Regions from separate parts of the Homo sapiens genome. Here regions 1, 2 and 3 are each linked to region 4. Evidence: promoter capture Hi-C in human tissues and cell types (Jung and others, 2019). All regions are on one chromosome and are shown on one strand. The core of a region is centred on a gene start or on the middle of the fragment in contact, and the rest is flanking DNA. Distances in the headings are between cores, read along the strand shown. Region 1 has its middle 26 kb from the start of HOMER3. Region 2 holds the start of RAB3A (RAB3A, member RAS oncogene family). Region 3 holds the start of SLC25A42 (solute carrier family 25 member 42). Region 4 holds the start of UBA52 (ubiquitin A-52 residue ribosomal protein fusion product 1).

The links. Contacts are between HindIII fragments. The study calls those that stand out against the background at their distance.
Region 1: a contact is called between a fragment that was not itself captured here and the fragment with the promoter of UBA52 in region 4, in 1 of the 25 tissues and cell types used here (spleen).
Region 2: a contact is called between the fragment with the promoter of RAB3A here and the fragment with the promoter of UBA52 in region 4, in 1 of the 25 tissues and cell types used here (dorsolateral prefrontal cortex).
Region 3: the fragment with the promoter of SLC25A42 here is called in contact with the fragment with the promoter of UBA52 in region 4 in 2 of the 25 tissues and cell types used here (lymphoblastoid cells and spleen).

The regions. Positions count from the first base shown.
Region 1 is chr19:18,964,846-18,969,823 of GRCh38, forward strand. No RefSeq gene overlaps it. Among named protein-coding and RNA genes, the nearest start is that of HOMER3, 26 kb to the left of the region's middle. The HindIII fragment of the contact is 8,790 bases long and covers 1-4,978 here.
Region 2 is chr19:18,200,830-18,205,788 of GRCh38, forward strand. It overlaps RAB3A (RAB3A, member RAS oncogene family), which reads right to left and starts at 3,213. Exons shown (of 5, transcript NM_002866.5): 1 at 3,067-3,213; 2 at 1,684-1,911. The coding sequence starts at 1,911. It overlaps LOC102725254 (a long non-coding RNA gene), which reads left to right and starts at 3,901. Exons shown (of 2, transcript NR_134910.1): 1 at 3,901-4,070; 2 at 4,627-4,734. RefSeq lists enhancers at 2,455-3,237, 3,270-3,564, 3,750-3,849 and silencers at 3,230-3,619, 4,505-4,564. The HindIII fragment of the contact is 10,728 bases long and covers 1-4,959 here.
Region 3 is chr19:19,061,519-19,067,254 of GRCh38, forward strand. SLC25A42 (solute carrier family 25 member 42) reads left to right here and starts at 2,476. Exons shown (of 8, transcript NM_178526.5): 1 at 2,476-2,597. It overlaps LOC124904655 (a long non-coding RNA gene), which reads right to left and starts at 2,007. Exons shown (of 3, transcript XR_007067160.1): 1 at 1,672-2,007; 2 at 526-633. RefSeq lists silencers at 1,948-2,117, 2,378-2,647. The HindIII fragment of the contact is 11,421 bases long and covers 1-4,727 here.
Region 4 is chr19:18,567,442-18,573,106 of GRCh38, forward strand. It overlaps UBA52 (ubiquitin A-52 residue ribosomal protein fusion product 1), which reads left to right and starts at 4,416. Exons shown (of 5, transcript NM_001033930.3): 1 at 4,416-4,468. KXD1 (KxDL motif containing 1) reads left to right here. Exons shown (of 5, transcript NM_024069.4): 5 at 961-1,937. The coding sequence ends at 1,190. RefSeq lists enhancers at 3,750-4,426, 3,797-3,916, 4,127-4,466, 5,105-5,665. The HindIII fragment of the contact is 7,230 bases long and covers 2,205-5,665 here.

The DNA.
Region 1 (4,978 bases), core at 881-3,380, 400 kb after region 4:
GGCCTCCCAAAGTGCTGGGATTACAGGCGTGAGACACTGTGCCCGGCCTTCTTTTACGAGATGGAGTCTCACTCTGTCGCCCAGGCTGGAGTGGAGTGGTGCAATCTCGGCTCACTGATACCTCTGCCTCCCAGGTTCACGCTACTCTCCTGCCTCAGCCTCCCAAGTAGCTAGGATTACAGGCATGTGCCACCATGCCCAGCTAATTTTGGTATTTTTAGTAGAGATGGGGTTTCACTATGTTGGCCAGGCTGGTCTTCAACTCCTGACCTTGTGATTCACCCACCTCGGCCTCCCAAAGTTTTGGGATTACAGGCGTGAGCCACCGTGCCCAGCCGCAACTCATTTCTTTTTTCTTTTCTTTTTTTCTTTTTTTTTTGAGACAGAGTTTAGCTCTTTTTGCCCAGGCTGGATTGCAACGGCGCGAGCTTGGCTCACCGCAACCTCCGCCTCCCGGCTTCAAGCGATTCTCCTGCCTCAGCCTCCCGAGCAGCTGGGATTACAGGTGCCTGCCACCACACCCGGCTAATTTTTTGTATTTTTAGCAGAGACAGAGTTTCACCATGTTGGCCAGGATGGTCTCGATCTCTTGACCTCGTGATCTGCCCACCTTGGCCTCCCAAAGTGCTGGGATTACAGGAGTGAGCCACAGCGCCCGGCCAACTCATTTCTTTTCTAACAAAAAACAGCCTGAAAAATCGAGCTGCAGACATGGATAAGCAAGTGGGAAGCTTCCAGGGGTGAATACCAGCAGCTGTGTCAATGGAAAAGGGCCACCTGAGGGCCTGGCATGTTCAACATGGGGGCTCCAGCTTCCCTTTTTTTTGGTCACTACGTGTACAGTAAAGAAACAGGTTTTAGTTTGGCTGGGCACGGTGGCTCATGCCTGAAATCCCAGCACTTTGGGAGGCTGAGGCAGGTGGATCACCTGAGGTCAGGAGTTCGAGACCAGCCTGGCCAACATGGCGAAACCCCGTCTCTACTAAAAATACAAAAATTAGCCAGGCATGGTGGTGGGCGCCTATAATCTCAGCTACTCAGGAAGCTGAGGCAGGAGAATCGCGGGAACCCAGGAGGTAGAGGTTGCAGTAAGCCAAGATCGAGCCACTGCACTCCAACCTGGGCGACAAAAAAAAATGAACAGGCAACATGGCGCCAGCCAGCTAGAGAACTCATCTGCATAATAAAAGATTAAGAAGCCAGGCGCAGTGGTTCATGCCTGTAATCACAGCACTTTGGGAGGATGAGGCAGCAGATCATGAGGTCAGAGTTTGAGACCAGCCTGGCCAAGAGACCAGCCTGGCCAACATAGTGAAACCCCATCTCTACTAAAAAAATTAGCCGGGCATGGTTGCAGGCACCTGTAATCCCAGCTACTCAGGAGGTTGAGGCAGGAGAATTGCTTGAACCAGGGAGGCAGAGGTTGCAGTGAGCTGAGATCGCACCATTGCACTCCACCTGGGAGACTCAAAAAAAAAAAAAAAAAAAGAAAGAAAAGAAAGAAAAAAAAGATTAGGATGGGAAGGCCAGCTTTTCACACCCTATGCAAATTACACACATAGCCTTAACCAGGTTTTTACACCCTATGCAAATGAAACACCTGGTCCAACCAATCTTTTGTGCCCTATGGAAATCAGACACCACCTCCTTAAGCTCATCCATAAAACTCACTGCTTTTTACTGAGGAAGTGGAAACCCGTTCAAGATCCCTCTCTCTGCAGCAGAGAGAGCGCTTCTCTTTCTTTCACCGATTAAACTTCCACTCTGAACCTCACTCTTTGTATGTCTGAGTCCTAGTTTTCCGGGCCTGTGAGACAACAAATCTTGGGTATTTACCCCAGACAACAACACTACTCCAGTGGGAGGGAACACTTGAAGCCAGGAGTTTGAGGCCGGCCTGGGCAACTTATTGAGACACCATTTCTATAAAACAAACAAACAATAAGCAGGGGCTAGGCATGGTGGCTCACGCCTGTAATCCCAGCACTTTGGGAGGCTGTGGCGGGCAGATCACCTGAGGTCAGGAGTTCGAGATCAGCCTGGCCAATATGGTGAAACCCTGTCTCTACTAAAAACACAAAAATTAGCCAGGCATGGTGTCAGGTGCCTGTAGTCCCAGCTACTTGGGAGGCTGAGGCAGGAGAATCACTTGAACCCAGGAGGTGGAGGTTGCAGTAAACTGAGATCGCACCACTGCACTCCAGCCTGGGTGACAGGGCGAGACTCCAACTCAAAAAAAAAAAAAAAAAAAAAAAGCTGGGCACGGTGGCTCATGTCTGTAATCCCAGCACTTTGAGAGGCTGAGGTGGGTGGATCACCTGAGGTCAGGAGTTTGAGACCAGCCTGGCCAACATGGTGAAACTCCGTTTCTACTAAAAATACAAAAATTAGCCGGGAGTGGTGGCACACGCCTGTAATCCCAGCTACTAGGGAGGGTGAGACAGGAGAATCACTTGAAAGGAGAATCACTTGAACCTGGGAGGCAAAGGTTGCAGTGAGCCAAGATTGTTCCACTGCACTCCAGTCAGCCTGGGTGACAGAGAGAGACTCTGTCTCAAAAAACAAACAAACAAAACAGTCAGCAGGAACAGGCTCCAGGGAGAGACGTTCTGCTGCCTGGGTTGGGAGGGCTATGAGAAGTTGGCAGAAGGAGGAGCCTAGGGAGGTTCCTAGATTTTTCTGAGTGCTTGAGGACTCTCTCTCTGATTTGGGGAGGCTTAGGGAGCACTGGGCAGCTCTGAGAGTGGCCTGGGAGCCTGGCTGTGCCCCCTGCAATCCTGATGCTTTGGGGTAAGCAGGTGTTTGCCCCACCAGGCCGGAGGGCAGAGCAGTTCCTCTGGAACATCTCCCAATGCACAAAGGTTCTGGATATGGGTATGACTGTGAACTTCCCCTCGGCAAATACCTCCCCGACGGAAATGCACACGCAGCCTTCTCTCTTGGAATAAGGCAGGAAAATAAAAAAATAAAAATAAAAAATAAATGTATAAGAAGGTGAAGTCACAACGGGCAGTAGACAGTTGGGGATATTGCACCATCCCTGCAGGAAGGAAGCACCTTGGAGCTGACCCAGGCCGCCTCACTCTGCTTCCTTTTGAAACGCTCGTGACTTTTCAAATACTGCATTTTGCTGACAGGGCAAAGCATGCTCAGCTGGCCATGACGACAGGCTCTCTGGAGACTTGGAGAATGTTCCAGGTTGACTCAGAGGAATGCAGGTTGGAATCCCTGCTTCATCTCTGGTTACCTCTGTGAGCTTGGGCAAGGATGGGCTTTTTATTTTTATTTTTATTTTATTTTATTTATTATTATTATTTTTTAAGACAGAGTCTTGCTCTGTCACCAGGCAGGAGTGCAGTGGCAGGATCTCGGGTCTTCGCACCCTCCACCTCCTGAGTTCAAGTGATTCTCCAGCCTCAGCCTCCTGGGTAGCTGGGATTAAAGGCACCTACCACTACACCTGGCTAATTTTTGTATTTTTAGTAGAGATGGGGTTTCACCGTGTTGATCAGGCTGGTCTCGAACTCCTGACCTTGTGATCCGCCTGCCGTGGCCTCCCAAAGTGTGAGCCACTGTGCCCAGTCCCAGGCTTTTTAATAAACTCTTCTGGAGTAACTGGGTATCTGTGTGGCACAAAATAAACCTTGATCCCTACCTCACACCCTACACACAAAAATTCACCTTTGGGGAAAGCCCTTTCTCACTCTGAGTCTCTTCTGGGCCATGGTTTCCAACTCATAGAGCTGCTGTGGTACTGGGTCCCAGCAGCCCTGCCTGAACACTTCGCAAAAAGTAACTATCATTGGAGGTGTGGGGGTTCATGCCTAGAATTCCAGTGCTATGGGAGGATGAGGCAGGAGGATCACTTGAGGCCAGGAGTTCTAGACCAGCCTGGGCAACATATGCAGACCTCATCTGTCATATATATATATATATATATATTTTTTTTTTTTTTTTTTTTGAGACAGAGTTTTGTTCGTTCCCCCAGGCTGGAGTGCAGTGGTGCAATCTCAGCTCACTGCAACCTCTGCCTCCCAGGTTCAAGCAATTCTCCTGCCTCAGCCTCCCAAGTAGCTGGTGTGTACCACCATGCTTGACTATTTTTTTGTATTTTTGGTAGAGACGGGGTTTTACCATGTTGGCCAGGCTAGTCTCTAACTCCTGACCTCAAGTGATCCACCCACCTTGGCCTCCCAAAGTGCTGGGGTTACAGGTGTGAACCACAGCGCCTGGCCCCCACCTCTTCATATTGTCACATGGGTCTTAGGCTTCCACATATGAATTCCAGGAGGACACATACATTTGGGCCATAGGAGAGACAACACATCAGACTCTCAGGAAGGACTGAAGGGGTGGGAGTGGGATTCTGTATTCGATGGGACTCTGCAAATTTGAATTGTTCACATAGTATACAGTGATTCCCTTTTATCGGAGGTTTCACTTTCTTTCTTTCTTTCTTTTTTTTTTTGAGATGGAGGCTTGCTCTGTCTCCCAGGCTGGAGTGCAGTGCTACGATCTCGGCTCACTGCAACCTCCACCTCCCAGGTTCAAGTGATTCTCCTGCCTCAGCCTCTGGAGTAGCTGGGATTACAGGCACGCACCACCACACCCAGCTAATTTTTGTATTTTTAGTACAGATGCAGTCTCGCCATACTGGTCAGGCTGGTCTTGAACTCATGACCTCAGGTGATCCACCTGCCTGGGCCTCCCAAAGTGCTGGGATTACAGGCGTGAGCCACCGCACCCGGCCTGAGGTTTCATTTTCTGTGGTGTTGGCTACCTTCCATCAACCTCAATCCAAACATATTAAGTGGAAAATTCCAGAAATAATTCGTAAGTTTTCAGTTGCCTGCCGTTATGAGTAGTGTGATGAAATCAGTCCCCACCCCGCCCCCTCCCACCCTGGATATGAATCATCCCTTTGTTAAGGGTGCCCACGCCATAGACACTACCAGCCGGCTAGTCACTTAGTAATCTT
Region 2 (4,959 bases), core at 1,963-4,462, 370 kb before region 4:
GAGGCTCAGGTGAGAGGGTTGCTTGAGCCCAGGAGGCAGAGGTTGCAGTGAGGTGAGATCGCGCCACTGCAGTTCAGCCTGGGTGACAGAGTGAAACCCTGTCTCAAAAAACAAACAGGGGGTCGGGTGTGGTGGTGGCTCACGCCTGTAATCCCAGCACTTTGGGAGGCCAAGGCAGGTGGATCACCTGAGGTCAGGAGTTCGAGACCAGCCTGGCCAACATGGTGAAACTCTGTCTCTACTAAAAATACAAAAATTAGCTCGGCGTGGTGGCATGCACCTGTAATCCCAGCTACTCAGGAGGCTGAGGCAGGAGAATCGCTTGAACTCAGGAGACAGAGGTTGCAGTGAGCCGAGATCGCGCCATTGCACTCCACCCTGGGTGACAAGAGCGAGACTCCGTCTCAAAACAATAACAACAAAAAAAAAAAAAAAAAGAAAGAAAGAAAGAAAGAAAGAAAGAAAACAGAGGCCAGGCGTGGTGGCTCATGCTTGTAATCCCAGCACCTTGGGAGGCCAAGACAGGTGGATCACTTGTGGTCAGGAGTTCAAGACTAGCCTGGCCAACATGGCGAAACCCTATCTCTACTAAAAATACAAAAAAAAATTAGCTGGGCTTGGTGGTGAGCCCCTGTAATCCCAGCTACTCAGGAGGCTGAGGCAGGAGAATCGCTTGAACCCGGGAGGCAGAGGTTTCAGTGAGCCAAGATTGCACTACTGCACTCCAGCCTGGGTGACAGAGCAAAAACTCTGTCTCAAAAAACAAACAAACAAATAAACAAACATGGACTGGGCACTGATCTTTTCCACACCCTGAACTGGACACTGGGGACACAGTTGTTAACAAGATGGGCACTTCCCTTGCTAAGTGACACTCAGTGTGGGAAATAGAAAATAACGGTATAAATGTATCCTATATTGGAGAGTGACAAGGACCAAGGAGAAAAATCAAGCCAGATGAAGATGGAGAGAATTTAACTGTAGGTTTAAAAATTAAAGGAAGCTGACACTTGCCTGTACTCCCAGCTACTTGGGAAGCTGAGGCGGGAGGATTGCTTGAGCCCACGAGTTCAAATCCAGCCTGGGCAACAGAGTGAGACTCTGTCTCTTAAAACTAACAAGGCCAGGTGGGGTGGCTCATGCCTGTAATCTTAGCACTTTGAGAGGCTGAGGTGGGAGGATCGCTTGAGCCCAGGAGTTCAAGACCAGCCTGGGCAGACATAGCCCGACCCTGTCTCTACAAAAAAGAAAAAAATCAGCAGGCGTGGTGGTAGAAGCCCGTGGTCCTAGCTACTCAGGAGGCTCAGGTGGAAGAATGGTTTGAGCCTGGGAAGTCGAGGCTGCAGAGAGCCGTGATCACGTAACTGCATTCCAGCCTAGGGGACAGAGCAAGACCACCCTGTCTCAAAAAACAAACAAAAAAAGAGAATGGGGACCAAGATCCAGCTGAAACCTCATACATGGAAGAACTTGAAGATGGGGAAACTGAGGGACCAGGATTAGGTGCTTATGGGAGAACACAGGTGCTGTTTCTGCCCCGGTACACAGTGGGCACCTTACTGATAAATGCCCAGTGTGTAAGTGAATGACTCCAGTCAGGAAAGAGATAGACGAGGTTGGGGCTGCTTTTCCAAGTACGGGAATCCAACCGAGCCGGGCGGGAGCCCTCCAGCTGGGACCCACCCAGATCTGCAGCTTGATCCTCTTGTCGTTGCGATAGATGGTCTTGACCTTGAAGTCGATGCCCACGGTGCTGACGAAGGCAGGCGTGAACGAGTCGTCAGCATAGCGGAAGAGGAAGGACGTCTTGCCCACGCTGCTGTTGCCGATGATGAGAATCTTGAACATGTAGTCGAAGTTCTGATCCGAGGACTCCTTCTGCCCATAGCGCGAGTCTGTGGCGGATGCCATCTGGGGATACCGGGTGTAGCAGAGCCGTGAGGGGGGCTCTCTCCATCCTCATGTGCCCAAGCCCAGGCAGAAGATGGCAAGGGCTCCAGAAAACGGCCGGTGTATGGAGGACACCCTTATCCCATCAGGAGCCCCAGTATTAATTGGTGGTGCCCCCAGCAGAGGGCAGCCTGTGACCTTGAAATCCTGGGCGTTTCAGAGGAGGGGCTCAGAGGGTTGCCGATGGGGACACCCCAGCAGCCCCCTTCAAGGGGCAGGTGCCCCAGGTGGGGCTGTAACCCTAAACCCAGGGCTGAGCCCGGAGGGGGTGACTGCGGCTGGCTCCGCCCCCCATCAATCTTTCATGGTCCTCAGAACCCGGCCGCGCGGCCCCACGTGCACCGCGTGCATGGTCCCTCGAGGACGCGCATCTGCAGCCCCCGCTCCCCGCAAACCTCCAGGCCGGAGAGCTCCGGCCAAGGCCGCTGCATCACATGATACAGGAGGGGCATGCACACGCTCACGTGCACACAGCCTCAAACACGCTCATCCGTACATACAGGAGTGTGTGAACGCACTGAGGTGCACAGGACAAAGACACAGACACCTGTTTGCACACCGACTCGCCTATAGAAATGTGCAAACCACCCGTGCGCACAGGCCCCTCCACCCATGCAGGCGTGTGCACATCACCCACACGGACACGGATCCCCGTGCTTGTATGCACGGGCCATACCTGCACAGGCGGTCCACACGTCTTTCTCCACGCGCGTGCAACGCTCACACACTTAGGCCCAGACCCCCACGGCGTCACACGAGCATATCCAGGTACACAAGCAAGGGTGCACACAGACCCGCTGACACAGGCAGGCGCGCACACGCGTGTGCACACCACGCGCACGCGCACGCAAAAGCCTCCCGCGCGCACAGCTTCCCGCAAGGAGCTCGGCTCCCCTCCCCCTCCGCCGCAGAGCAGGGGGGTTGGGGGGGTTAGTGGTGAGGATCAGGCAGGAGTGGGGCGCCCGGGCCCTACCCATTCCCAGCCTCGCGACCGCCGCATCCTTCCCCCCATTCAACCCTAGTCAACCTCGTCCCCCACCTCCATCAGCCCATCAGTCAAATGAAGGTTATGCAGGTGCTCGGAGCCTGAGCACACCCGGCCGCCCAGGAGCTCACCTTGCCCTGCACCGATGCAACGGCGACCCTAGCGGCGGTGACTTTTTTGGCGGTGGCGGTGACAGGACCCCGGTGCGTTGATGTGGGGCTGCGCGGCGGCGGCGGCAGCAGCGGCTCAGGCCCCTGCAGTCCTCCGTGACGTCCTGCAAAGGGAGGGGCGGAGCCTCACATGTAGATAAGTCCGTGACGCCATCCGGAGGCGGAGCCGCGCGTAGAGATGTGGCCCATTGACGCACGCAGAGCCAGATGGGGCAGGGCTCCTGAGCAGATTGACGTGCAAATGGGGCGGGGCCTAGCGTGTGCATCCAGTAGGGGCGGGAGCGGCGCGGGGGCCGACTCCGCCTCTCGTCCGCCTCCTGTCCGCCTCGGGGAGGCGGGGCCCCTCAGCGTTCTCTCACTGGCTTAAGCTCTCGAGCGACGGGCGAAGTAGCCAATCAGAGATTGTCTACGCCCTCCTCTTGTCCAATGGTGGCATCTGGGAGATTGAAGGGCCGAGAGGCTGAGGCCTTGGCTGAGCCCCGGTCTTCGAGGGGCGGTTCCCTTACCCGCCCGCACCCACCCCAGGTAGGGGACTCTTGAGGCCACCGTCTAGTCCAAGGTGCTGTGACCCCTGTTAAATGCCCCTGACTCCCAATTGCAGAAAAGAAAAATCGAGGCCCAAGAGATGTTTTATACCCTCACATATATGGGGTTCAAAATAAATACCAAAGAATAAACAGGAGTCAAGAGGGACCCCTGTCCCATTCCCGAGGCGTAAGACCCCCCCACTGAGGGAGGGGCTAGTAAAGACTCCACCCCTCCCCCGTTTCTGAGGTTTGAAAAGAAAGAAGTAGAGGTCAAGAGAGCCTCCCCTCCCCACCATTCCCAGAAAAGGAGGAAGGGGCTGATGGACTCTCTGGGAACCCCCTCCCCTCCCTGCGCCCCGTCATCAAGAAGAAAATTCGAAGAAAAGGTTTAGCAGGGACAGAGAAGCGACCTGTCCCGGAAACCCCTTAAAGCCTGCGGTAAATGCCCCGGGAAACAGGGAGGGCACGAGCCGAAGCCTCCAGCTCTTCAAAGCTCGGATTCAAAGACCCGGGGGCTGGGAGACCCCCTCCCTCCATCCTGGGAAAGCAAAACTCAGAGGATGGAGCCTTTTGGGAGCTAAGATGGTCCATCTTTTATTCCTCCAAATCTTTAGGGAAGGAAGTCAGAATTTGGGGAGGGAGGAGGAGCCCGAAACCCCAGCCCCCACTTTGGGTCTCCTGCTCCCCCTACTCCAGCTTTCAAACCCTCCAGGGGTGTGTGGCCCCCAGGAGAGTCCTGATCCCCTAGATTCTCCCCCCACCCCTCCCAGTAGGCGGGGCTGGAGCGTGTGTGTGTGGCGGGGGGTGACTCGTCCTGTTTATAAAAAGCTCGCCAGCTGCGGAGGCGCCGAGAGACCAGAATAACTTAGCGCCTCGAGGCCCAGCCGCCGCCAACCCAGTCCCCAGCCCGCCCCCAGTGCCCTGGGAGTACTGGGACGCCCACCCCCACGTCCCCGCACCGTTTACATTTGGGAAATTTATTTTTTCTTTTTAGGGTAACATGTTTGCTCCCTCCTCCCCCACTCGGACTATAGAAGTATCACCAATCCACTGCAGAGAAATTGGGAAAATTCAGAAAAACAAAAAATAAAAAGAAATCCACCTCCCATTCTCCCTGCCCTCCGCGCCCACGCGGTAGTCCGTGCTCTGTGGGGGGCTCCAGGGCAGCTGGTCCAGGCCCTGGCCTGCCGCCTCCTTGGAGGGGAGGTTTTTCGGTTGCTCAGCTCCCTGATCGCCCAAAGGCACGCTTCCTACATGGGTGGCTCTCTCGGAAATACCTCCTGCCTTTTTTCCCCAGGAAGAGAAAAGTGAGCCACGAGAATGTGCG
Region 3 (5,736 bases), core at 1,226-3,725, 490 kb after region 4:
TGCCCATGGTGGGGGTGTCCATTGCTATTGCCAAGGTGCTTTGCCTGCCATTGCTGGAAGGCGGTAGGGAGGTTGGCTGGCGCCAGCCTGCTAAAGAACGAGCAGAAGCTAGAGAGGCAGCCCCAGGCTGGGCCAGAGCCTGACCTTTGCCTTAGTTGGCTCTGTCCCTGGAGGCACTGTGGGACCTTCCAGGAGCTTTGTTACCTCCCCCTCCCAGGGCCTGGCAGGTGGGCACTGGGAGTGGGCGCTCCTCGGCGTAGATATCTCCCTCTTGGTGTGGCAAGCCACGCCCATAGTTGGTCTGTGTCCATGAAGCGCTATTTACAGAGAGGGAAACAGGCCCAGAGAAGAACAATATATCATCACCAGCCTTCCATGAGTGCTTACTGTGGACGAAGCCATTGTAAGTGTTTTGCTTCCATTTCATCAATGCTCACATCAGCCCTAGGAGACAGCCGGGAAACTGAAGTGGGGAGCTTGTGTTATTTGCTGAAGGTCCTGTGGCTGTTACTGGCCATTACTTACGTTAAAAAGAGCAGGGATTCAAACTCAGCCCTGGGTCCTTCCACCAAGGAATATTCTCCACCATAGGCTCAGTTTTCTTATCTGCTAAGTGGGCACTGTCACGTCCACCTGGAAGTGAGGTGGGGAGATGGTATTGGAGAAAGCCCAGTGGGGACCTGGCACCCAATTGATGTTCAACTGACCTCAGCTTCCCCCTCTTCTCTGGAGGGCAGAATGGAGGCCAGATCCTGGAAGTTGCCAGGAAGCAAACCACAGGTGGGAGGTATGGGAGAGGAGGTCCAGGTAGGCATATCGTGAGAATATCAGGAGTTTGATGATGGCCTTGGGCTAGTGATTTCCCGTCACATCCTCCCCATTTGAAACTTGTGGATCACACACTTAGCAGGGGCTTGTGCAGCCCTGAAATGTGAGCCCTTTCTAAGGTTGGTTTCAGCCTTGCTCCCTCCCAGGATTCCCTGGTTCTGAACTTGATCTCCACCAACCCTGGCCAGCACCTAGAGGAAATAAGAGCTGGTATCTGGAAACATTTGTAGCCCTCTCCATCCTGAAGATGAAGGGTGAGTCATAGAACAGAGTGGCTTCGGGGGAGGTGCCGATGACACAGCCATGCCTGGGATGGCAGGTGTCTCCCTAAACTGCCGGCATTTTTCTGCACTTCACAGAGGAGCTGAGGCTCACAGGCCGCACATGACCTGCTCAGGGTCAAATGCTTTCACCAGATAATTAAAATGAGAGCTGAGTTGTAAATTTTCCCAGGGAAGCAACCCCAGAGAGGAAAGATCAAGGCATAGGAATCATTTTCCCCCCTCTTTTCCAAATGAAACAGCTGAGGCTCACAAGGGCTTTTGCCCAAGGTTGTGTGGTGGGCCAGTGATTGGACAAGGATTCAAACCCAGGTCTCTGAGGCCCCCAGTGGCTCTTCTCTGACACACTCTTTCCAAAAAGCAGGCTGCTCTAGATTCATTCTCTGGTTTAGCAACCAGAGAATGCTGTGTAACCTTGGGCAAGGAGCTTGACCTCTCTGTGCTCTGGTTTCTGTAAAAGGAGCCAGTGGTCTCTCTGACCTCATGGGATTGTGGTTAAGATTCAGTTAATTCAAAAAAAGACTTGGCAGGGAGAAGGCCCAACAGGGATGTCACTGGATACCGTGGCGGGGAAAGCTGGGACGCAGAGAGGTCAGACACTCAGAAAACCACGCAGCGCGTTTCAGTAGGATTCCGCCCCTTATTTCCATGTCTTCACACCACCTCGAGATGGAGAGGGCAGTTCAGAGTGACCTCCAGCGAATCTGCCCTCTCCGTGTCGTCTGCAGGGGATTAGTGGGGAGTAAGGGGATAGAGAATTATCCAGGAGTCCTTCAGCCTTGATGGTCCAAGTTCACATCCGCTTCTGTGCTAGGTGGCCAGAGGGCGGGCTCTACACGAGAGCCTCAGGGGACCCTGCGCCAGGCGTCCGAGGCCACGTCGGGTTGCCGCGCTCCGGGTCGGACTGCACCTTGAACGCTCCAGCCCTCCCCTGGGGGCGTACCGCCCACGGCCGCTGCGACTGGCCGCGGGGCCTGCCAGTCTTCGGCTTTGCGGCCAATCCCGGTCTCCCCCCAAGCTACGCCCTCCGTTCCTCTCGCCTCTGCCCCACCGGTAGCGCCAGTTTCTTCGTAGCCCCGCCCCTGGCCCCCAGCGATTGGCCGACAGTTCTGCCTGTTTTCTGCCAAGATTCCAATCCTCGCCTGCCTCCAGGCCCTCGCCTCCCAGCGCCTAGCACCCTGAGGGACCACTCAGGCACCCCAGGCCTCTCCCAATAGCCCCACCTCTGCCAATCAGCGATTGGCTTTAGGGGCTGCCCATCTGCTTCATACTCGCCAATCACTGTCGCTTCCAGCGCTGACTGGCCAGGGAGCAGCCAATCGGGGCGTGGCGTGGACCCCTCCCGTGGCGCGCTCTGGGGGTGCGCGAGGCGGGGCCGTGGCGGCTGGAGGTAGCGGCGGCGGCGACGCGTCCGGGCCGGTGAGGGGGCGCGGGGGGCGCCGGGGGGGCCCAAGCGTCAGCGGCCCGCGCCTGTCGGGCTGAACTGAGGTGAGGCACGGGTCCTGTCATGGATCCCGGGGCGAGGGGCGGATGAGGCGGGGCATGACAGTAGCGTCGCGAGGGCAGGAAGAGGTTAAAGACCCCCCCCAACCCCACACTCCACGTCTACTGCCCCCTGGGGGCTACTGCATCCAGGTTTGAGCCCGTCACCCGCAGTCCACGCACGCCTGACACCACGTCCCTTTTCGTTGACATCCCCCATACACTTTAGACTGTCCTTGCTGACATCTCCCACACCCCTGGGGCCTTGTCCCCGGCGCCCCGCACAGCTGGGTCTGACATCCCCCTCACACACCTGACACCGCGCCCCCACTCACGAACACCCGCCCCCACTCACGAACACCCCCCACATCACCTGAGTCTGTCCTTGTCGATGACACCCCCACACCCACACCTGAGCCTGTGACTCCTAACTCATGGCCTCGCAACTCACACCTGGACCTAGTCCCGTCCCCCACTGCCTTTCCTCATATCCAGGTATCTGCTCGCTACTCTCGTGCCCACTCCCCCAGCAACCTGTGTCTCTCTTCTCAGGGACCTTCCCCCTGGCACCTGCCCTCTGCCCTGGCAGCCCCACACCTCTGTCTCCCCCTTTTCTCTCTCCCACCTTGGGCTTTCTTCCACGTGCACCTGTGTTCGCACACCCTCTGTAATAATCCCCCCGAATCCCCCAGGTCCTCCAATAGTCCCCCAAGCCTTGGTATCTCAGGATCGCTGCACCCTCCCCTCCCCAAACAAAAGCTTACCCCAGTGTTCATTTCTAACAGTGCTTGACAGTCTATAAAGTGATTTCCGGACCTTAGAATAATCCCATCTGTCAGACCAAACCGGAATCATCTCCATTTTACCAGCCACAGACCTAAACCACTTGAATGCTAGAGGCAGAGCCTATTCTACCCTGGGCATCGCTGACCCTCTGCTGTGGACCCACCGCGTTTGGGCCCATCTGTTATGTTTATCTCAGAGGGATTGGCAGGAGTCGTGACTTTGACTGGGTCCGGAAAGGCTTAGCTGGAAGGGACGGCCCCTCTGCCAAGCGTGTGTCTCGGAGTCCTGGGGCAGGCTGGCGGTGGAGACGCTGCCGGAGGAGGGGGGCTCATCATCTTGGGTGCCTCCTGCAGGATGCCGGAGAGGGGGTTGCCGGGGCCGGGGCTCCCAGCTCTTGCAGACCCGGGACCCCTCTCCGACACTCCCTGGGCCCTTGAAGCCGATAAAGAGTAAGGAAACACTCTTTAGAGTGAGGCAAACTAATGTTTCAGCTGTTTAAAGCTAACCTGCAAAACGAGCCTGGGTGGTGCTAGGAATGATTCTTCTGGAATTTTTTAGTTCCCTTGAGTCTGATTTGCAAGCATGCAGCATAGAAGGAGGACAGTGGCTTTGTTGTTGAAAAGCAATAACGTGCCATTTCCTGTAAGGCTCCTGGAGCGTTTCTTACCCCCTCCCACCGCTCCCTGCAAAGACGGTACCAGAATGTTTCAGAGGGTCATGTCACCTTCAGCTTCTCCTGTGGAAACTGAAGCCATTTGGGTTTTCTGTCCAACTTCAATAGGAGTCATTTAAAACATATATGGGCATGTATGTATATATGTATGTATATGTGTGTGTGTTGTACACATATGTACATGTACCTATAATATTCATATGTTTATATACATATTTTATATATACATATTTCGTGTGTGTTATATATGTACATGTGTATAAACTTTGGCAAGATCATTGAGTATATAGTTTTTGGGTTTTTTTTGAGACGGAGTCTTGCTCTGTTGCCCAGGCTGGAGTGCAGTGGTGTGATCTCGGCTCACGGCAACCTCTGCCTCCTGGGTTCATGCAGTTCTCCTACCTCAGCCTCCTGAGTAGCTGGGATTACAGGCATGTGCCACCACACCCAGCTAATTTTTGTATTTTTAATAGAAACGGGGTTTCACCATGTTGGCTAGGCTGGTCTCGCACTCCTGACCCCAAGTGATCTGCTCGCCTCAGCCTCCCAAGATGCTGGGATTACAGGCGTGAGCCACCACACCCGGCCTATTATATAGTTAAAAAGAAAAAATCAAACAGTACAAAAGGTCACATAGTAGAAATCAGTCAGGTCTTCCCCAGCCTGTACCCCGTTCCTCCTCAGATGCACCTGCTGTTGATAATTTCTTATGTTTTCTTCCAGAGGTAGTCTATGACTGGGGTGGCAGAAAGGGGTCGGGGGAGGTATATATCCCCCACCCCTTTTAAACCACTGGTAAATTTGCATTGAGCAGACATATGCATTCTAAGGCCAGTCCCTTACTGATGGCTGTTTAAGCTGCAGCCCATATTTTTTTTTTCTTTCTTTTTTTTTTTTTGAGTTGGATTCTTGCTCTGTCGCCCAGGCTGGAGTGCAGTGGCGCGATCTCGGCTCACTGCAAGCTCCGCCTCCCAAGTTCAAGCCATTCTCCTGCCTCAGCCTCCTGAGTAGCTGGGACTACAGGCACCCACCACTACACCCGGCTAATTTTTTCATATTTTTTTAGTAGAGACGGGGTTTCACTGTGTTAGCCAGGATGGTCTCGATCTCCTGACCTTGTGATCAGCCTGCCTCGGTCTCCCAAAGTGCTGGGATTACAGGCGTGAGCCACTGCGCCCAGCCACTGCAGCCCATATTTAGCTTTTACAAACAGAGCTGCAATGGATAGATGCATGCATCAGCATGTACTAAATACACATTGAACGTATTTGGGCTCCAGCCGTGCTCAGACACTTCAGACCCCCCTGTCTTGCTGGCCATGCCTGTAGTCCACAGTTACTCAGGAGGCTGAGGTGGGAGGATTGCTTGAACCAAGGAGTTCAAGGCTGCAGTGAGCTATAATCATGCCACTGCACTCCTCTCCAGCCTGGACGACAGAGCTAGACCCTGTCTCAAAAAAAAAAAAAAAAAAGGGCCAAGTAAAAGGGCATATTCCTCCTCCTCCTCTCAACTGTGAAGTTGGAAAGCCTGATTCCTCTCCTGTGGCCAGCTCAGTTATCTTACTATCAAGTTTTGTGGTCTGTCCCATCTGATAGGTAAAAAACAGCACAAGAGATCCTTTTGAACATCACTTCCATGCTTCCTACCCCTGTCTTAGGTGTTCTGGCTTGTGGGGTAGGGATTAAA
Region 4 (5,665 bases), core at 3,166-5,665:
TGTGTGCATTATGAGCCATCTCAGAACAGAGCACGGGCTCATGTGACACCAGCCCCGACATCGTCTCGCCTTCCCTGAGCCCCAGCTTCGAGGATCTGTCCCATGTCCAGCTGTTACCCACAGTCACCCATGGGGTGGGGACTGTGAGTATCACCGTTTCATGGAGAGGGAAACAGAGGCCCAGAGGGGCAGGACTTGAGTTCGCATCTGTCTGGCTAGAGAGCTCGCGTGTTCTCTGGGGTACCATTCCATGTTGCCACCACCTTAAAGGGCTCTGCAGGCTGAGCCTGGGTTCACACCATCTGTTGAAAAGGCCGACAGCTCTCCATCCCAGGGCCTCCAACAGCAGTTTACAGAGCAGGGAGCTGGGCTGAGGGGAGGTCATATACCTAGCCCAGGTAGTGCAGTGAGCCAGGTTCGCCCTCAGGGCTCCTGTAGGCCTAACCCCAGATCTTGTGTCCCTTCCTCACCTCACCTTGAAGGGAGGGCTCTTCCCTGCCTGGGCCTCAGTTTTCTCCTCTACAAAATAAAAATGGGCCAAGTCTGCCAGGCGCGGTGGCTCATGCCTGTAATCCCAACACTTTGGGAGGCTGAGGCGGGTGGATCACCTGAGGTCGGGAGTTCGATACCAGCCTGACCAACATAGAGAAACCCCGTCTCTAGTAAAAATACAAAATTAGATGGGCGTGATGATGGGCATCTGTAGTCTCAGCTACTCAGGAGGTTAAGGCAGAAGAATCGCTTGAACCCGGGAGACGGAGGTTGCAGTGAGCCGAGATTATACCATTGCACTCTAGCCTGGGCAAAGAGCGAAACTCCGTCTCAAAAAAAAAAAAAAAAAAGGGTCAAGTCATACCCCCATGGGGTGAGGGCAGCCGTTAGGGGTCACATGGACAATAAGTCCTACATCACAGAGCTTGGCAAGGTGACAAAACCAACTCTTGGGCCTCCTTCCCCCAGATATCCCAGAGGCATCCTTCCTGGAGGAAGAGGATGAAGACCCCATCCCACCCAGCACCACGACCACCATTGCCACCTCAGAACAGAGCACGGGCTCATGTGACACCAGCCCCGACACCGTCTCGCCCTCCCTGAGCCCCGGCTTCGAGGACCTGTCCCATGTCCAGCCTGGCTCCCCAGCCATCAACGGCCGCAGCCAGACAGATGACGAGGAGATGACGGGCGAATAGCCCTGCTGCCCGGTGCCTTGAGGGGGTCTCAGGGCAGCAGCATACAAGGTGGCAGCGGGTAACCCTGCCTTGTTCTGTCATCCAGGGCTCCTTTGCTGCCCCGTTCTGTCACCCAGGGCTCCTAGGGGGACAAGGCTCTCTCCCGAGGGGTGTGGAATTCCTGGGGGGGTCTTTAATTCTGGCTCCTTCCTTCCTCAGAACATCTCTATTCTGCAAGACCCCTCTGCCATGCCAGGGCACGCCCATTCCAGCTGGAGTCGTGGGGCTGGGCACAGGGGAATTTTTCCAGAGCTGAGCCTGACGTCTGCTCTGAAGAATGCTTAGAAGGTTCCCAGACACCAGAGCCAGATGTCCCCCACCACCGGTCAGGACCTCCTTGAGGTGCACAAGCACGGTCTCCTCTGAGTTCACCCCAGCCCACCCCCGCACCCACTAATTCTGCTTTTCCTGCCCCTTGCTCCGTAAAAGTATCAAATACTTTCTCCTTGGTATCTCAAGGAGGTTTCTGAGATAGGTAGAAGTCTTGAGACGGAGGCTGGCCATCCATTCAGCCCTGAGCGTGCTGAGTTCTGTGTTTCTCTGAATAGAGGTGTGGAACCTGAGGGGCCAGCAGGCCTCTCTGAAGGCCTCCATGGAGCAAACGGAGCCACCTCGGGAAAGAGTTTAATGGAATATTTTTGTACCCGATGTTTACAGATGCTGTTGGGAAGTTATCAATAAAAAGACACCATTACTAAAAAGGGAAAAGTACACCTAGCTGTGGCTTCTTCAGTCCTTAAGCCAAGCAACCCAAAAGGAGGGCAAGTGCTGGATGTGGGGCTGGGGGCCCTGCTGGAGGGAGGTGCAGACAATCAGGCACTACAGGGCTAGAAAGAGATGTGGCCCTTTTTTGGAACCCCCCCTGGTGGGAGCTATAACAACCCAAGTTCCCGTCACCAGCTAGGTCTTCCCTCACGCTGCTGTCACTGCTCACAATACTAGTGTTCCCATCCTCATTTCATAATTCCTTCTCCAGATCTCAGCCTTCCTCCAGATAGGGGAGCCACACTAGATCCATTCCCCATCAGACACACTCCCAGGGTTACCTCATCTTCTGAGTACTTAGAAATTATGTTGTTATGACCGGGCTTGGTGGCTCATGCCTGTAATCCCAGCACTTTGGGAGGCCGAGGTGGGTGGATCACCTGAGGTCAGGAGTTCGAGACCAGCCTGGCCAACATGGTGAAACCCCATCTCTACCAAAAATATAAAAATTAGCTGGGTGTGGTGGTGTACACCTGTAATCCCAGCTACTTGGGAGGCTGAGGCAGAATTGCTTGAATCCAGGAGGCAGAGGTTGCAGTGAGCCAAGATCGCACCACTGCACTCTAGCCTGGGCAAAAAGACCAAAACTGTTGTCTCAAAAAAGAAAAGGAAATTAGGTTCTTAAAGGCATCTTCCCAGACGTGAGAGTGTCTGCTTTTGCCTGGTATAGTAGTGCCTGCAAATGTTCAAGGAAATAAACAGGTACCCCTGTTAAGCCTATAGGTAACTTCTCATTGCTCCCCATCTTCTCTGTACTCAGCACTTTTTTTTTTTGTTTTGTTTTTGAGACAGCACCTCTCTGTTGCCCAGGCTGGAGTGCAGTGGCTGAATCATGGGTCACTGCAATCTCAAACCTATGGGTTCAGGCAATCCTCCTGCCTCCGAAGTAGCTGGGACTGCAGGTGCGCACCACCACACCTGGATAGTTCAAAATAAAACTTTTTTTTGTAGAGACAGGGTCTCACTATGTCTTCCAGGCTGGTCGTGAATTCCTGACCTCAAGTAATCCTCCCTCTTTGACCTTCCAAAGTGCTGGGATTACAAGTGTGAACCACTGCACCCGCCGTGGCACTTTTTTTTTTTTTTTTTTTTTTTGAGATGGAGTCTCACTCTGTCACCCAGGCTGGGTGCAGTGGCGTGAACTCAGCTCACTGCAACCTCCACCTCCCGGATTCAAGCGATTCTCCTGCCTCAGCCTCCTGAGTAGCTGGGATTACAGGCACCCGCCACCACACCTGAAAAATTTTTGTAATTTTTTTTTTCTTTTTTGAGACGGAGTTTTGCTCTTGTTGCCCAGGCTGTAGTGCAATGGCACTCTCTCGGCTAATTGCAACCTCTGCCTCCCGGGTTCAAGCGATTCTCCTGCCTCAGCCTCCTGAGTAGCTGGGATTACAGGCATGCGCCACCACGCCCAGCTAATTTTGTATTTTTAGTAGAGATGCGGTTTCTCCATGTTGGTCAGGCTCGTCTCGAACTCCCGACCTCAGGTGATCCGCACATCTCGGCCTCCCAAAGTGCAGGCGTGAGTCACCGGACCCAGGTCCCGCCCTGGCACTTTTTAACCACCCACAAATCTGGATCCTACACTGAAAAGAGACACTGCAGTGGCTCACGTCTGTAATCCCAGCACTTTGGGAGGCCAAGGCGGGCGGATCACCTGAGGTCGCGAGTTTGAGACCAGCCTGACCAACATGGAGAAACCCCGTCTCTACTAAAAATACAAAAGTGGCCAGGCATGGTGTCGCACACTTGTAATCGCAGCTACTCGGGAGGCTGAGGCAGGAGAATTGCTTGAACCCAGGAGGCGGAGGTTGCGGTGAGCCGAGATCGCGCCATTGCACTACAGCCTGGGCAACGAGAGCGAAACTCCGTCTCAAAAAAAAAAAAAAAAAAAATCCTGAGTCCCGCTTGACACCTTTTGTCAGGCACCACCACCTTTCTGGGCGAATGCGGTAGTACCGTCTGCTCTCCCTGCTGCTGTCCTGAAATCCATTCAGGCACAGCGGCCGAGAGCTTTATAATAACCGATTCCAGGTGTTAGGTGCTTTCCCAGCCCCGACTCCTGCGTCCTGGACCCGCAGTCCTCTGCTTAATACCTTTGCTTTATTAGAAAACATTCTCCTCTACTCCGTTCAGCTATTCGCTGAGGGCCCGCCAACCGCCAGCGGTTGTCAGTGGCCTAGAGGCAGCGGACGCAAACACGGGGAGAGGTGCAATCGTCTCAAGTGACTCGGCGGGCGGGGCCCACAACCGGAAGCGGGTGGGCGACCTTCACCCACGTGCGCTGCGGCTTCGTTCGCCAGCATCCAAGATGGCGGCAGGGCGGGGCCCAAGGCGCGGCGCGAATTGTGACGCAGGCGTCCGGCGTGCTCCGTGCGCAAGCGCTTTCGGCGGCGATTAGGTGGTTTCCGGTTCCGCTATCTTCTTTTTCTTCAGCGAGGCGGCCGAGCTGGTTGGTGGCGGCGGTCGTGCGGGTTCGCGCCGGGCCGAGAGCGGGTTGGGGGCTGCGGGAGGCTGCAGGGGCCTGGGCGGCAGAAGAGGCGGCCCTGAGCTGGCTCATGCGGGCCAGTCTCGGCAGGGTGGCTGGGCAGGGCTCGCGAGGCCACGGCTCGGAGCCCAGACCGGGGCCCAGGAGGCGAGCGCCGTTTTGGAGAGGAGCCTGCCTGCTCTGCCTGCCAGCGTGACCCCACGAGGCCTCGGGCGGGAAGAGGTCCTCGGGGCAGATCCGAGTTAATGAGAGAGGGGTATTGAGCGTGTAGCGTTAACTCTGCCAGTCACTGCGTCAGTCGCTTTGGAAATACTAAATTTCTCGAGCTGAGTCTTCATACCTGGCTCCATTACTACGTCTGTAAGGAGGAGCTGGTGGTAGTGTCTGCTTTTTAGACTTTTCTTTAGACTATTTGTATTTTTTTCAGATGGAGTCTTGCTCTGTCGCCTAAGCTGGAGTTCAGTGGTGCGGTCTCGGCTCACTGCAATCTCCACCTCCCGGGCTCGAGCGATTCTTCTGCCTCAGCCTCCCGAGTAGCTGGGATTATAGGCGCCTGCCACCACGCCCAGTTGATTTTTGTAGTTTTAGTAGAGACGGAGTTTCACCATGTTAGCCAGGCTCATCTTGAACTCTTGACCTCAAATGATCCGTCTGCCTCGGCCTTCCAAAGTGCTGGGATTACAGGCATGAGCCCCTGCGCCCGGTCGATTCTTTGTCTTTTTAAGTCAACTTTTATATGTGAACAATGCTTGGCAGGTGGTTGGTAGATACTAAGTGATGTTCGTGGTTTGGGGTCAAGGCAAGAAGTGGGGTCTGGAGAGTTTTGGTGTAATTGAGAAGGAAGCTAAGAGTGTTGGGTGCTCCAGCTTGGAGTTAGAGAGGAGAGAGGCTGCGACAGGAAGGCATGTGTGTTGTAGGGGATGGCTTCCCATCCAGGCTGGCAGCAGGAGCAGCCTGTGCAGATCAGGACCTGGCTGCCGTGGAAGAGGGTGGGACCGCCTTCAGGGAAGATGGATCTAGCAAGATGATGCCAAAGGGTACTTATTCCATCAGGAGATACTGACGAGTCCTTCCGCCGCTAAACCTAAGGAGAATAACCACAGTCTGTGTTCCTGAAGAGCACCCGTGCGGTCAGGAGGGTGGAGGACATGTGGTCTTTAGTTCCAGGACATGTTTAGACTAC